Linked DNA regions of Homo sapiens: regions 1 and 2 are each linked to region 3. Evidence: promoter capture Hi-C in 16 types of primary human blood cells and fetal thymus (Javierre and others, 2016). All regions are on one chromosome and are shown on one strand. The core of a region is centred on a gene start or on the middle of the fragment in contact, and the rest is flanking DNA. Distances in the headings are between cores, read along the strand shown. Region 1 overlaps CLEC12B (C-type lectin domain family 12 member B). Region 2 overlaps CLEC1B (C-type lectin domain family 1 member B). Region 3 holds the start of TMEM52B (transmembrane protein 52B).

Evidence for each region. Contacts are between HindIII fragments. The CHiCAGO score rates a contact against its expected background, and 5 or more counts as called.
Region 1: a contact is called between a fragment that was not itself captured here and the fragment with the promoter of TMEM52B in region 3, in 1 of 17 cell types (neutrophils). The highest score is 5.4, in neutrophils.
Region 2: a fragment that was not itself captured here is called in contact with the fragment with the promoter of TMEM52B in region 3 in 1 of 17 cell types (monocytes); the score reaches 6.8 in monocytes.

The regions. Positions count from the first base shown.
Region 1 is chr12:10,013,454-10,017,449 of GRCh38, forward strand. CLEC12B (C-type lectin domain family 12 member B) reads left to right here. Exons shown (of 6, transcript NM_001129998.3): 3 at 1,070-1,288; 4 at 1,799-1,953; 5 at 2,159-2,274. It overlaps LOC102724020 (a long non-coding RNA gene), which reads right to left. Exons shown (of 4, transcript NR_169587.1): 3 at 2,620-2,695; 4 at 1,433-2,320. Among named protein-coding and RNA genes, the nearest start is that of CLEC12B, 4.8 kb to the left of the region's middle. The HindIII fragment of the contact is 742 bases long and covers 1,563-2,304 here.
Region 2 is chr12:9,991,885-9,996,268 of GRCh38, forward strand. CLEC1B (C-type lectin domain family 1 member B) reads right to left here. Exons shown (of 6, transcript NM_016509.4): 5 at 3,256-3,362; 6 at 1,191-1,403. The coding sequence ends at 1,259. It also overlaps a transcript of CLEC12A not described here. Among named protein-coding and RNA genes, the nearest start is that of CLEC1B, 5.0 kb to the right of the region's middle. The HindIII fragment of the contact is 700 bases long and covers 2,727-3,426 here.
Region 3 is chr12:10,176,183-10,180,355 of GRCh38, forward strand. It overlaps TMEM52B (transmembrane protein 52B), which reads left to right and starts at 2,850. Exons shown (of 5, transcript NM_001384896.1): 1 at 2,850-3,446. The coding sequence starts at 3,393. It also overlaps a transcript of OLR1 not described here. RefSeq lists an enhancer at 3,208-4,173. The HindIII fragment of the contact is 29,503 bases long and covers 1-4,173 here.

The sequences.
Region 1 (3,996 bases), core at 684-3,183, 160 kb before region 3:
CACCACAGCCACAAAGGAACATTCTATTGATTCTGACCCATCCTCGGGAAGTTGGGGATGAACATGGTAGGGAGTTCTTGAGTAATGAGAAAAACATCCTGAGAATACAAACTTTATAGGGTTGTTAAGTATATGGTATACAGAGTAGTGAATTGGCATGGTATTCGCTTACAGGGAACTCACAGTCAAGAAAGTTAATTTGCTGAATGATACTAACATCTCCTCTGCTACATTCATTTCTTTTTAATGATTTAATGGATAATTTTTTAGGATTTAATGGTTAATTAGGATTTGGACATATCTTTGCCAACATAAAAAGAGACTAATGATGTACCTTGCTCTTTTGAAAAGGAATATGATGTTCAAGCAGCAGTAACAGATATTCTGGAGCCAATCAGTATGAGGATTAGCAGCCGATCTTCTACAATAATGTATATTTAAAAATTAAGTGAAAATGCAATAACGTACGTCCATTGGTTCGATATAGAAGGGTGACATTTCTTTTCTAAAATTTAGTGCTTTTGGTGCAGTGGTTCTTAAATTTGTTGTGCTGATGAAGCACCTTAAATGCTTATGAAAAGGGCATATTTCATGGACCCATGACGAGAAATGGTCTGATATGCCATTAAGATCTGCTTTTTCTTTTCTTTTGGTAAACAAGCATCTCAGGTCATCTGCAGAGTTTGAGATATCCATTGTCCCAAAGAATGCTGTTTTCATTAAAACAACAATTACATCATCTATCTCCAAATAAAATAAAACAAAAATAAAACAATTTCATGAAAATGAGTGGCAGAATGACTGGCCCTTCCTTAGATGTGATGTCAGAAATATATCATTATTAAATCATTATTTTAATATAGTGCAATAATAAAAATGTAAATAAAATTATAAAGAACTATAAATAATTTGGAATAGAAAGGCATCTGGTTTGTTTCTTTCATGATACCTCAAATACTAAGAGCTACTAATAAATCTTGAACAATTAAGAAATGTTTCTGTCACGAGAATTATCTACAGTTATAAGAATAGAAGAATATATGAACTTGTCTCCTGTCATGTCTTGGAGTTTTGCAGATATCTAATGACATTAACTCAGATTCAGAGAAATTGAGTCAACTTCAGAAAACCATCCAACAGCAGCAGGATAACTTATCCCAGCAACTGGGCAACTCCAACAACTTGTCCATGGAGGAGGAATTTCTCAAGTCACAGATCTCCAGTGTACTGAAGAGGCAGGAACAAATGGCCATCAAACTGTGCCAAGAGCTAATCATTCATACTTCAGGTAATCAGACTTAGTCCTGCTGACCAGTCAGATGGCATATGTTATCCTGGTCTAAGTTGATCACATGTACCACCTAAGAGTATTGAGAGAGTTATGTCATCCAGTGAACCTTAATGATGTTGCACTAAATTTACACACAGCAAGGAAATATACAAATTCATTTAATATTTTTGAAACCACAGGCAAATTTGGGAAGTATCTTGGAATGATATCAATCTGGATACTTCAACCCCTCATTTTATTAACTATTTCTAGGTGATCATGTTGCTCTGAAAGCTTAAAGGCATAGCTGGTAATTCTGAGGTCAGAAGACTAAGCCATGAAAAGAGAATCCCTGTTGCCCCAACCCATAACCAGGGGTCACTTTTTTTTCAGAGGCTTCTAAAGCAGTATGCTTTCAGGGTGCAGGCTCTCAGTCCCTATTGTTCAATTACATGATTTTGTTTCAAAGCCTTCTCCAGTCACTCTAGAGTCTTCAGTTTATATTATTGGGTATAATTTCCTTTTCAGACCACAGATGTAATCCATGTCCTAAGATGTGGCAATGGTACCAAAATAGTTGCTACTATTTTACAACAAATGAGGAGAAAACCTGGGCTAACAGTAGAAAGGACTGCATAGACAAGAACTCCACCCTAGTGAAGATAGACAGTTTGGAAGAAAAGGTAGGATTGAGTCTCATTCTCTAGTTATAGACATTATCCATACAATGAGAGAGAAATAAATAAAACATCTGATTCACATGATGGAAATTCAGTGCATCTTGAATTAGAATTAATACATGAATTTAATGAATGTCCTCATCTATCTTAACTCTGCAAACTGGAATGTGGCGCTCACGTAAAACTTTTTCTCTGTTTTCTCTCTTAGGATTTTCTTATGTCACAGCCATTACTCATGTTTTCGTTCTTTTGGCTGGGATTATCATGGGACTCCTCTGGCAGAAGTTGGTTCTGGGAAGATGGCTCTGTTCCCTCTCCATCCTTGTACGTCTCTAACTATTGAGGGTAAACACAAGCTTTCCATGGAATCCTGGGAAAATTAATAATGATTGTGAGAATTATAAATACAGACATAAAAAGAGGAGTACAACATACTGAGAAAAGAGCTCCAGTAACAAATATTGAAAGGAGGTATAGTTCATTTCATCTCTGTGACAAATTTATAGCAAGGCACTGAATTTTATCTTTTGGTAGAAATGTGTTTATTTAACACACACACACACCTAATACTACATTCAAAGTATTTTATAAATACTAACCCTTGAAGAAAGCAGTTATATTCCCATTTTATAGGTAGAAATATTATAATAGAGAGATTAAGTAACTTGCCTGAGGTCACTCAGCTCATAAATTGCACTTTAGGGATTGTGCACTCAGTCACTCAGCTATTCTGACTCTCCAGCACCTACAATCCAAAAGGGTGCTGCTGGTCATAAGAACACATATCAACACATTTATTTATACTAAATAACTGTCAACCATTTTCTAACAAAAAGTAAGACTGAATTGACTGATTAGTTCAACAATTAGTGTCATGTTGAGGACTTGCCAATTACAATATACGGCAAGTGTCTTTTATGAATTAAAATGAACTAAACCTTCCACTTCAGGGTTTGGATGAAACTATTTAAAGGACAAATAGAATATATAACACTTGGAAAATTTCAATTTTTTTAACTATTTAAAGTTATGAAAAAATAGACGTCAACAAAAATGTGTAAGGGGATATTAGGTTTGCTAAATTCTTTCACAGACTATAAAACAAAAAATTTTGAGGAACACCTCTCATCATAACTACATTTAAATGAAACAACTGTATTAATATTTTAAATATAATAGTATTTTTCTATTAGATAAAATTTAAGATCTTTGGCATCTTAATGGATTTTTAAACTTTTTATTGATACATAAGAGATGTATATGTTTTGGGGTATATGTGATAATTTGATACATTCAGATAGTGTGTAAAGATCAAATAAGTGGAATTGGGATATCGATCACTTTAAATATTTATCTTTTCTTTATGCTAGGAGCATTCAAATTATTATTTTCTCATTATTGTGAAATGTACAGTAGATTATTGTTAATTGTATTCACCCTAATAATCTATGAAACACTAGGTCTTACTTCTTCTATCTAACAGAATATTTGTATTCATAATGGCTTTTTATCTACCTTCCTCCCCCAACAAATCATTATCCACCCCCCTCCCTCCTGTTTCACTCTTTAAAGCATGTTGTCAACGTTTTCTTAAACTGAATAATAATCACTCATCTTCTGTCAAAGATGCCATGCTTCAGCTGTGACTCAGCAGTTCCTTAAATCACAAACAATGGTAGGTCTATTATTTTCTCCCTGGATACACTTTATCTTCATCCATTTCCCAATGTTTTGTCATGGCTATTTCTACTCAAACACTAATCCCCCATTCTCTAATCACCATTATTAATCATATCAAGTCAATTAGTTTGGTTTCACACTAATAATAATGACAAAAAGCACATGCAGAGTAATACACAAACAAAAAAAGTGACAGTTACTTTTTTGTGACAAGAGCAATATTGGGTATGAACTGATTAATATTAATCTGAGGTGTTGCTACTAGACTGAGGGTTTCCAGGAGTAGTACTATGACATCATGTAAACACATTCAGTTTTCATGTTGGAATCTAAGATGTGTCCCTTCTCCCAAAGGGATTTTAATCA
Region 2 (4,384 bases), core at 1,827-4,326, 180 kb before region 3:
TTTCTCTAACTGTATTAAAGACTACTTGTATGAGAATTGTGTCGTGATGCTGGTAAAAACCCAGGTCTCTGTGTCTCCTCAGTCTTCCCACTGAGTAACATCAGCATTTGAGTTTCCTATTTGGTTTCTCTATGTTTTAACCAAAACCTCCGTTGAGATGTTTGAGAATCATGTTCGTAAATGGTAGCCACTAGTTAAAAAAGGGAAGCTGTGGGAAAGAAATGCAATTTTTTCCTATTATCCTGTAAAAGGGTGCCTTTCCACATATTCTGTAAATACTTCCTGAGTTACTCAGCAAAAATAAAGCACAGAACTGTTAGGAAAATACTAATTAAAGCATTTTTACTTGTCCTTCTGTCTAGTAGCCTCTGAAACTTAAGAAGCATTTATTCATTTTACAAACCCAGTGAGTTTTCTTGCAAACTTTCTTTTCCTTCTCTAGCGCAGAAAATTACTACTGTTGAATCTAACCAGAGGTAGACTTGGAATAGTAATTCTATTTGCGTAATGTTTTAATGATTGAGCTATTTTTCTCATGAACTATCTTATACAAAGAGAAACAAATATCTCTCTGTTTTGTGAGCCAGGGTTTCGGGTTGGTGCTGGTAAGAGAATAGTGAATGGGGAAGTCATAGTGTTCGCTTTCATGGAGTTTCTGGTACAGTTAACACTCTAAAGTTCTATTTTAGGTTGTAGAACTGTGAGATATAAAAGATGGTTGTTATTATTCCTATTTTAAATATGAGAAAAGGGAAGTTAAAGAGGTTATGAAACTTGTTCATGATTGTAATTTAGTTAATTGACATCTAAATTATTTTGCTGATTCTAAGTTTAATATTCTTTTTACTATCTTACACCGCCTTTCAAACTTAGATATTTTGGACAGATTTCAAACATAGATATTTTGCACAACTTATATTAATTAAGCCCTAACCTATATTGGCCTGATTTTGATGTTATATGTGTATATCTGAAGATGCAGTAAATCATACCATGTTCAGGTAATTAGAAATGAAGGACAAGAAGAAAGAAAATTAAAGGAAAATAGAACAATTGGGAAGCAAATGATAAACTCACGTGATGGCTTCTGTATATTCAAAGAAGGGACTAGGTAATTCTGATAGGAAAGATAATATTAAAAATAACTCCAGTGAGAAGAAAGGGAGAAATAAGCAATTTTCAGCTACTGATGCATTCATACATATCTTTTATTGTACAATAAAGCCCTTATCTGTGTTATCCTGTCCACCTCTTTGCATTAAGGTAGTTGGTCCACCTTGGTCATGCCAGCCTTCCTCTCACACATTAAATAATGTTTGTTCTCACAGAAGGTAGGGTGCATTTTCCCATTATGAAAATAAGCACAATTCATATTTCCTTTTCCATCTTCCAAAAACTCAAACCTGTGAAGGGAAAGTTAGAATAAATTCCTTTGAAAACTGAGCAAACAATCAGTAATCAGACTCTGCGTATAGTAGTTTGATGCACCAAATAGAGACTGAGGAAAATAGGAAAAAAAAACAAAAAAAAAAACGATTCTCATTGTTGAGAAAGTTCCACCCTGCTTGGCAGTACAAGATATGCATATTTAAAAAGCCCAATATCAATTTCATTTAGCATAAAATTAGGAGCAAGGGAACAGTAGGTACAATAGGAGCCCTGAAGAAGTGATGGAGATGGCTCCAAAATAATGGGAAAACGCATTATCTACAAGATCAGACTTTAGTTCGGTATTGATGGAAGGTCAGGACTCAGATGAACTGACAGGAGATGGAAGAGCCCTACAGGACAAGTAGCTGCACTAGATGGGAATACGCTCATGGAAAAGTGAGTTGATTCAGTAGTTTTGAAATCAGGATTTATGTTGCAAGATAAATCATCTAACACAGCAGGCTGTATTGTAATTGTCTGTTAAGTTATATTTCTTTCTTTCTAAACTGCTTATAATGAGATGACAAGGAATATATACTTATTGGTTTATTTGGAGAATACCTGCAGAACTATGTGACAAAGTTGTTCTATGTGCTGAGGATACACTGATAAAGAAAGACAAGAAAGCTAATGTCTTTCTTGTTGGGGAACTTTCATTTAAGTGGGGCGATACCGGTAAGAAGCCCACAAAAAATAGACAAGAAAAATTGAGACAGTGGTAAGAGTTACAAAGAAACAAAACAGTGGTGGACTGTATGGATATGGGTTTAAGGGAGGCTAATTTAGTTTGGGTAGAGTTAGGTTCACTGAAGAAGTGATGTTTAAATAGAGACTTGAGTCTCAGTGGAGAGATGGTCATGGAGTTGTGGAGGCAGAGCATTCTAGAAGAAAATAGCAAGACAAAAGCCTTAAGGTAACAAAACGAGTTTGATTTGTTGGAAGAATGTAAAGAACACTAAGTTGCCTGCAATATTGTAAATGAGGCAGCAAGCAATAGGAGATAGGAGATAAAGCCCAAGGTCTGTGAAGAGGCTTGCTTGTAGTTGTAGTATCCTAAGATCCTATCTATAGTAAATACTTAATAAATATTTGTTTAAAAATTTAATTCATAATTTGAGTAATAATCAGATTATATAAGTTTTGGTTATCAGTTTAAATTTTAATTGAAGAGAGACTGCAGTTTTGATATACAGGATGAACAAAAGATGTTGAGACTGCAGATTGGAAAGCCATATAGGAAGCAACTCCACTCAATGCAATCAGTCCCTTTGCCTGGATTGTTTGTAGAAGGACAAAGCTTCGTTAATGGACATTGGAATTATCTTGTGAAATACAATGTATCGAATTCTTGGAGACTCCCAGAATAGAGGAATAGGCAAAACAATATTGAAAACTCAAAAGGACTCTCAAGATAACAACTTTCAACTGTAAAATAATGATATGAAATTTTGTTTTAAAAATATGTGAAGATAATCAGAACAAGCAAAACACAAAAACACACACACATGTGCATGCGCGCACACACACACACACACTCACACATACACATACATGCACACAGTGTTCCATGGTAAGGTTGAATGTAAAAATGAATGGGAATAATATCAGAGATAAAGGTGGATTGTGGCTTAGATAAAGAGCAAAGTAATGGGAGAGAGGGGAAAGAATTGTCTTATGACCAGCGCTGTCTTGTTTGAATTAGCAGGTAAGTGACCCAGCTGCTGCTTCTATAACCCATAGTAGTGACTTGGACTGAGAGAAGAGGGAATCTCAAGAATAAGAGTTTCCAGTACTCCCTCCTATTCTAAGTGTCCAGTGACTTACATATTTTCTGAGATAACCGAGCCATCCTCCCACTTCCAGACCTCATTCGACTTCTGGCGAGATAATCCGACCCAACGAATTAAATGAGTCCTGGCTTTGATGTACTCCTATTGTAAACATAAATAAACACAATGGTCAGAATCCCTCCACAGCTCTTGGTATGATAGACAAAGCTTCATGATAAGACGTTGGACAAAAAATGTTGGATTACATGTCTATATTAGTATTAATGGATTACATTTGATGTTTGAAATTGTACCAATTTGACTTGTCTGAGAACTTAAAAAAAACTTATAGGACACAGGTAAAATTGTACACAAAATAGCTGATATTCTAATCTTCTTTTGTGTTTATAACATGTATTTAGATCTTCAACCAGTTGAGGATTATACTCCCAAATAGAATACCAAATATGATTCAAAGGAATAAATGTAAACAGAGAAAGGAAATACAAAGAAATACATTGTTGATGAGCTGTATATTCCTTAGAGTTAAAGCCCTACCTGCTTTGGTTTTATTGCTCAGCTTGCCTATAAAATCTTACATATGGAAGTATTAACTTGTTGTAGTTAATTGGATAAAGGCATTTATGATGTCTTTCTCAAAAGGATTTATAAATAACGTACATCTACCTTTCCCTATTTACTTTCTTCTAATTAGCAATTATCACTATCTACTAAACTATATACTATATCATTTGCTTTGTTTCTTGGCTGTTGCTTTAACTAGAATATACTCTTGTCGAGGTTAAGCATTTTTCTTTCTGTCTTACTAACTGCATAGGTCCAAATTCTGGAATAGTTTCAGCACATAGTTGCTGAATTAATGAAGGAATAAGTGAATCAATCAATCTATGGGTAACAAAATTATGTGAAGGCCAAATGCTTATATATTCTGAGACCTCCCAGAATAACAAGTGATAATGCATTCTTGGTAAATAAAAAATGACTTGAGCTTCTTGACAGATATGTGAGACTCAAAATGGCATTCCACAGGAGATATTGTGTGAAAGTCACATGTGACTGTTTATTTCTTAAAGCTTGAGCCACCGGGAACCTTTCTGTTATATCCTAATATTTTCTTTAAAATATATCAATATTATATACTTCCCAATAGGAACTGACAGATA
Region 3 (4,173 bases), core at 1,600-4,099:
TTCTTTCATCATTCCCTATATGGAGGCTTGGTTAGGGACAGGATTCAGAGTTAAAGCTGCCCCAAGGCATAATCTCATTCATTAGGATAAAAACAAACTTTTATCTTTCCAGGGACTAATCTGGTGAGAAAAAAAAAAAGGGTAGTAATAATTCTAAGAAAGGAAAGTCACAAGGAGGTCATTAACAGAACCTATTTTGTTCAAACCTGTTTGGAAGCTGGAGGGCAAAAAGATGATGGCAATTACGTGTTAGAAAAGTGCAATGCGAGCGGGGAGTCATGTTAACCAGCAAACCTGTTTAGGCAGGTGAAGGCTGGCGTGGTTGGGAGAAAAGGTGGCCAGGCTAGCAAGGAAAAATATTCAAGAATTAGAATATCAGGAGACTAAAATGTGGTCTGGAGAGGGAATGGTATAAAAATATACAAGAGAAGCATAAAGGACAGTAATTATCCAGAATCTTGAAAGTAAAGGTCACTGGTAAACTTTAGTGAAAATCAAAATAATCTTAGCAAACACAAAAAATATCAGGACTGTTATATTCATTTTACACACATTAACTTATTTAATCTGTATAAGGCTATCAAGTAAATATTACTACTATTACCCCCATTTTATATAAAATGAAAATGAGCCAATAGAGGTCTAATAACCTGCTCCAAGATCACACAGCTCATAAGTGACAAAACCAAGTATTTAAACCCAGGTATCCTGGCTAGGCTTTAGGTCTTGGTGCTCTACTGTCTTTCTGTCAAGAAAAAGAGAAGGGAAAGTTTCATGATGGGTTCCCTACGTACAGGGCACTCATGATAGAAATATCCTATTCAAAATGCTTTCCTGTCTCTTATTTTATTTTCTCTAGGAAATAACATCTAAAGCAGGTCAAGTGGGTATTCTGCTCCTGTTGTATGAATGGGAACGTTAAGGACTGGAGGAATTACATAATAATTTAGTGGAAGGCCACCTAAAGCCCTGCTCTCCTTGTCCTATAAAATACCTTCCACCTTGCCAAGTCTTCTACTGAAATCTGGAAATCACCCTTCATCCTAACCCCAGTTGCCTAATTTAAAAAAATAAAAAATAAAAGACTGTCAGTGCTCATTTCGTCTTGAAACTGACAGATTTTAAATCACCAGTATGGTACCAGGCCATTTTCTCATTATTTGTTTTCCTTAGCTGAGAACAAAACCAGTTTATATCCTGCATTCTCATATCCCATCATCAAGCTATGTGTGAGGACCCTTAGAGTATGATCAGCTCACCCAAGAGTCTCCCTTCCACAATCACTCAGCATAATTAGATTTACTGAGCTAGAAAGGTCCTGAAAGGAGGTTTTATTCAATTCTTATGAGATAGATATATCACTGTAAACTAACTTCTACTTTTCTTATCCCAGCCTGGCCAATATGGTAAAACCTTGTCTCTACTGAAAATAGAAAAGTTAGCTGGGTGTCGTGGCAGGTGTCTATAATCCCAGCTACTCAGGAGGCTGAGGCAGGAGAATTGCTTGAACCCAGGAGGCAGAGGTTGCAGTGAGCCGAGATTGCACCACTGCCCTCCAGCCTGGTGACAGAGAGACTCTGTCTCAAATAATAATAATAATAATAATAATAATAATAATAATAATAATAATAATTTTTTTATTAAACATTTGGTATTAAGTAAAAGATCACCTACTTAAGTATAAATCATTCATACAGCATTCTTTTGTTTCTTTTAATATTTTGCTTTTTTGAGGCAGATTCTCGCTCTATCACCCAGGCTGGAGTGCAGTGGTGTGATCTCGGCTCACTGCAACTTCTGCCTTCCGGGTTCAAGTGGCCCTCCTGCTTCAGCCTCCCAAGTAGTTGGGATTACAGGTGCCTGCCATGACACACAGCTAATTTTTGTATGTTTCGTAGAGAAAGGGTTTCATCATGTTCTCCAGGCTGGTCTCAAACTCCTGGCCGAAGTTATCAGCCCGCCTTGGCCTCCCAAAGTGCTGGGATTACAGGCATGAGCCATGGCACCCGGCCACATTTGTGTCTATAGCTTTGTTTCATTGTAAGTATTCTAGGCCAGGCACGGTGGCTCACGCCTGTAATCCCAGCACTTTGGGAGGCCGAGTCGGGCGGATCATGAGGTCAGGAGATCGAGACCATTCTGGTTAACATGGTGAAACCCCGTCTCGTCTCTACTAAAAATACAAAAAAACTTAGCCGGGCGTGGTGGTGGGCGCCAGTATTCCCAGCTACTCGGGAGGCTGAGGCAGGAGAATGGCATGAACCCAGGAGGCAGAGTTTGCAGTGAGCCGAGATTGCGCCACTGCACTCCAGCCTGGGTGACAGAGCAAGACTCCGTCTCAAAAAAAAAAAAAAAAAAAGTATTCTATGCTTTTGCATGTGTGCTTGTTTTTACTCTAACCTTAGGTTTTATTTTCCTGAGTGACAAGACTTATTTCTCAATCACATCACTCCTTAACCAAAGAGAGAGAGAGAGAGAGAAAGAGAGAGAAAGAAGGAACAAAGAAAAGGCAAGAAAGAAAGAAACCTATACATTTGCTTTTTTAAAATTTGGTTTTAAAAAAATGTCTTTCTCAGTTATCTATTTCAATGGGAAGTGAAGTCAGGGAGGAGGAAGATGTCACTGATAACACCTGAAAATTCTAATCTTCCGACTTGATTTCTCATCTTCAAGTCTGTTTTCTCCAAAGATGAGATGGCTTTCCTGTTCACTTGGCAACCTCTCAGTCTTACCCCAATGCTTAGGGATATAAATGACCCAGAACCAGGAGAGTTGATTATCAACATAGTGAAGGGGAGGGTTTCAAAGAGCAAGAAGGGGTTGTTAGTCACACGGAGAGAGAAGAAAGGAGATTAGCAGGGTGACTTTCACCCTGCAACAGTCACGCTGGAGTACTCTGGTGAAGGATCAAGAATATTACCAGTTTTCTGATGAAGAAAGGAATATATTTGGTCACCAGCAATCTGCCTTTGACCATCCTCAAAGCCAAGTTTTTCATCGCTGTCTAGAAAAATACTTCATTCAGAGGACACATATGTCCTCTTTGAATGTCTCCTTTTTGGGAGCAGTAGGAGAAAGAAACTTCAAGATGTAGAAAGAATTAATAGTGTAACGGAAAGAAAGAAGGCAAAAGGAAGTAAATGTGGAGGCCATAGAAATAGTAATAAGAATAAAGAAGAAAAACAGGAAAGAAGAGGGAAAAGCCATAGAAAATAACAGCCAGAGCGAGTAGGAGGAGACAGAGAGAACGAGAGAGAGAAAAGCTGATAAATTCCTGAGAAAAGTTTCTCTTCTTAAGAATTCTAGGTCAAGAAGTAAAATATGGCACAGAGCATTGAAAGGAGGCAACGGATGCCCAGTGCAAGATTCTGAAGAAGCAGGAATTCAGCCCGATGGGAGTCCGAGTTCATGTCGTGGCGGCCTCAGCCCTGCTGTATTTCATCCTGGTGAGTTCAGTGGTGAAAAGGCAGAAAGAGTATTTTTCCCCAGATTAATCAACTCTCAGAAGAGTCTGAAAGGAAATGAACTGCGGGGTGGGGAGACATATACAGAACCCAGGGGGTCATAGGGAAATGAATAAACTACAAAGTTTCCTTAGTATTACGAGATTGCATAGATGCATGTGTGACTGATGGCAATGACAATGAAAAGGGGGACAGAAATTAGAGTGAGCATGGAAACGAGCAGGATTGCCGTGGCACTTTAGAAGTGCCGCTGAAGTATTTTATCTCTTTTAGCATCTTATCACCCATCCCTCAAAATTCCAAACAAATTATGAAAACTAGGTGTGTAATTCCCCTAAACGGAATTTCCCATCCAGGAATTTCTAATCCTGTTCTAGCAGTTTAGGTGCCTCTAGTCTAGAAATAAGAGAGGCAGGGCTCTTTTAAAATATTTTGGGCCCCACAATGAATCAGAAGTCTCTGAGTAATCCATTAGTGGAGAAAAGGGTCACTGGACTGAGGGATTCTAAACAATTGTCACAGGGAAGTTTATAGAGCTATGCCATCTAGCAAGAAGGAGAGCAAATGAAGAAAACTGGATAGTCTCAGATTCCCGTATGGCCCCCGTACAGAGTGGGCTGTATGGTTTGTTTTTTTTTTTTTTTTGCTAATAGAACAGTTAAAGTGGTATCTGAAAATCCATTTTTTCTTATATTTTCTTTTTGCTTCC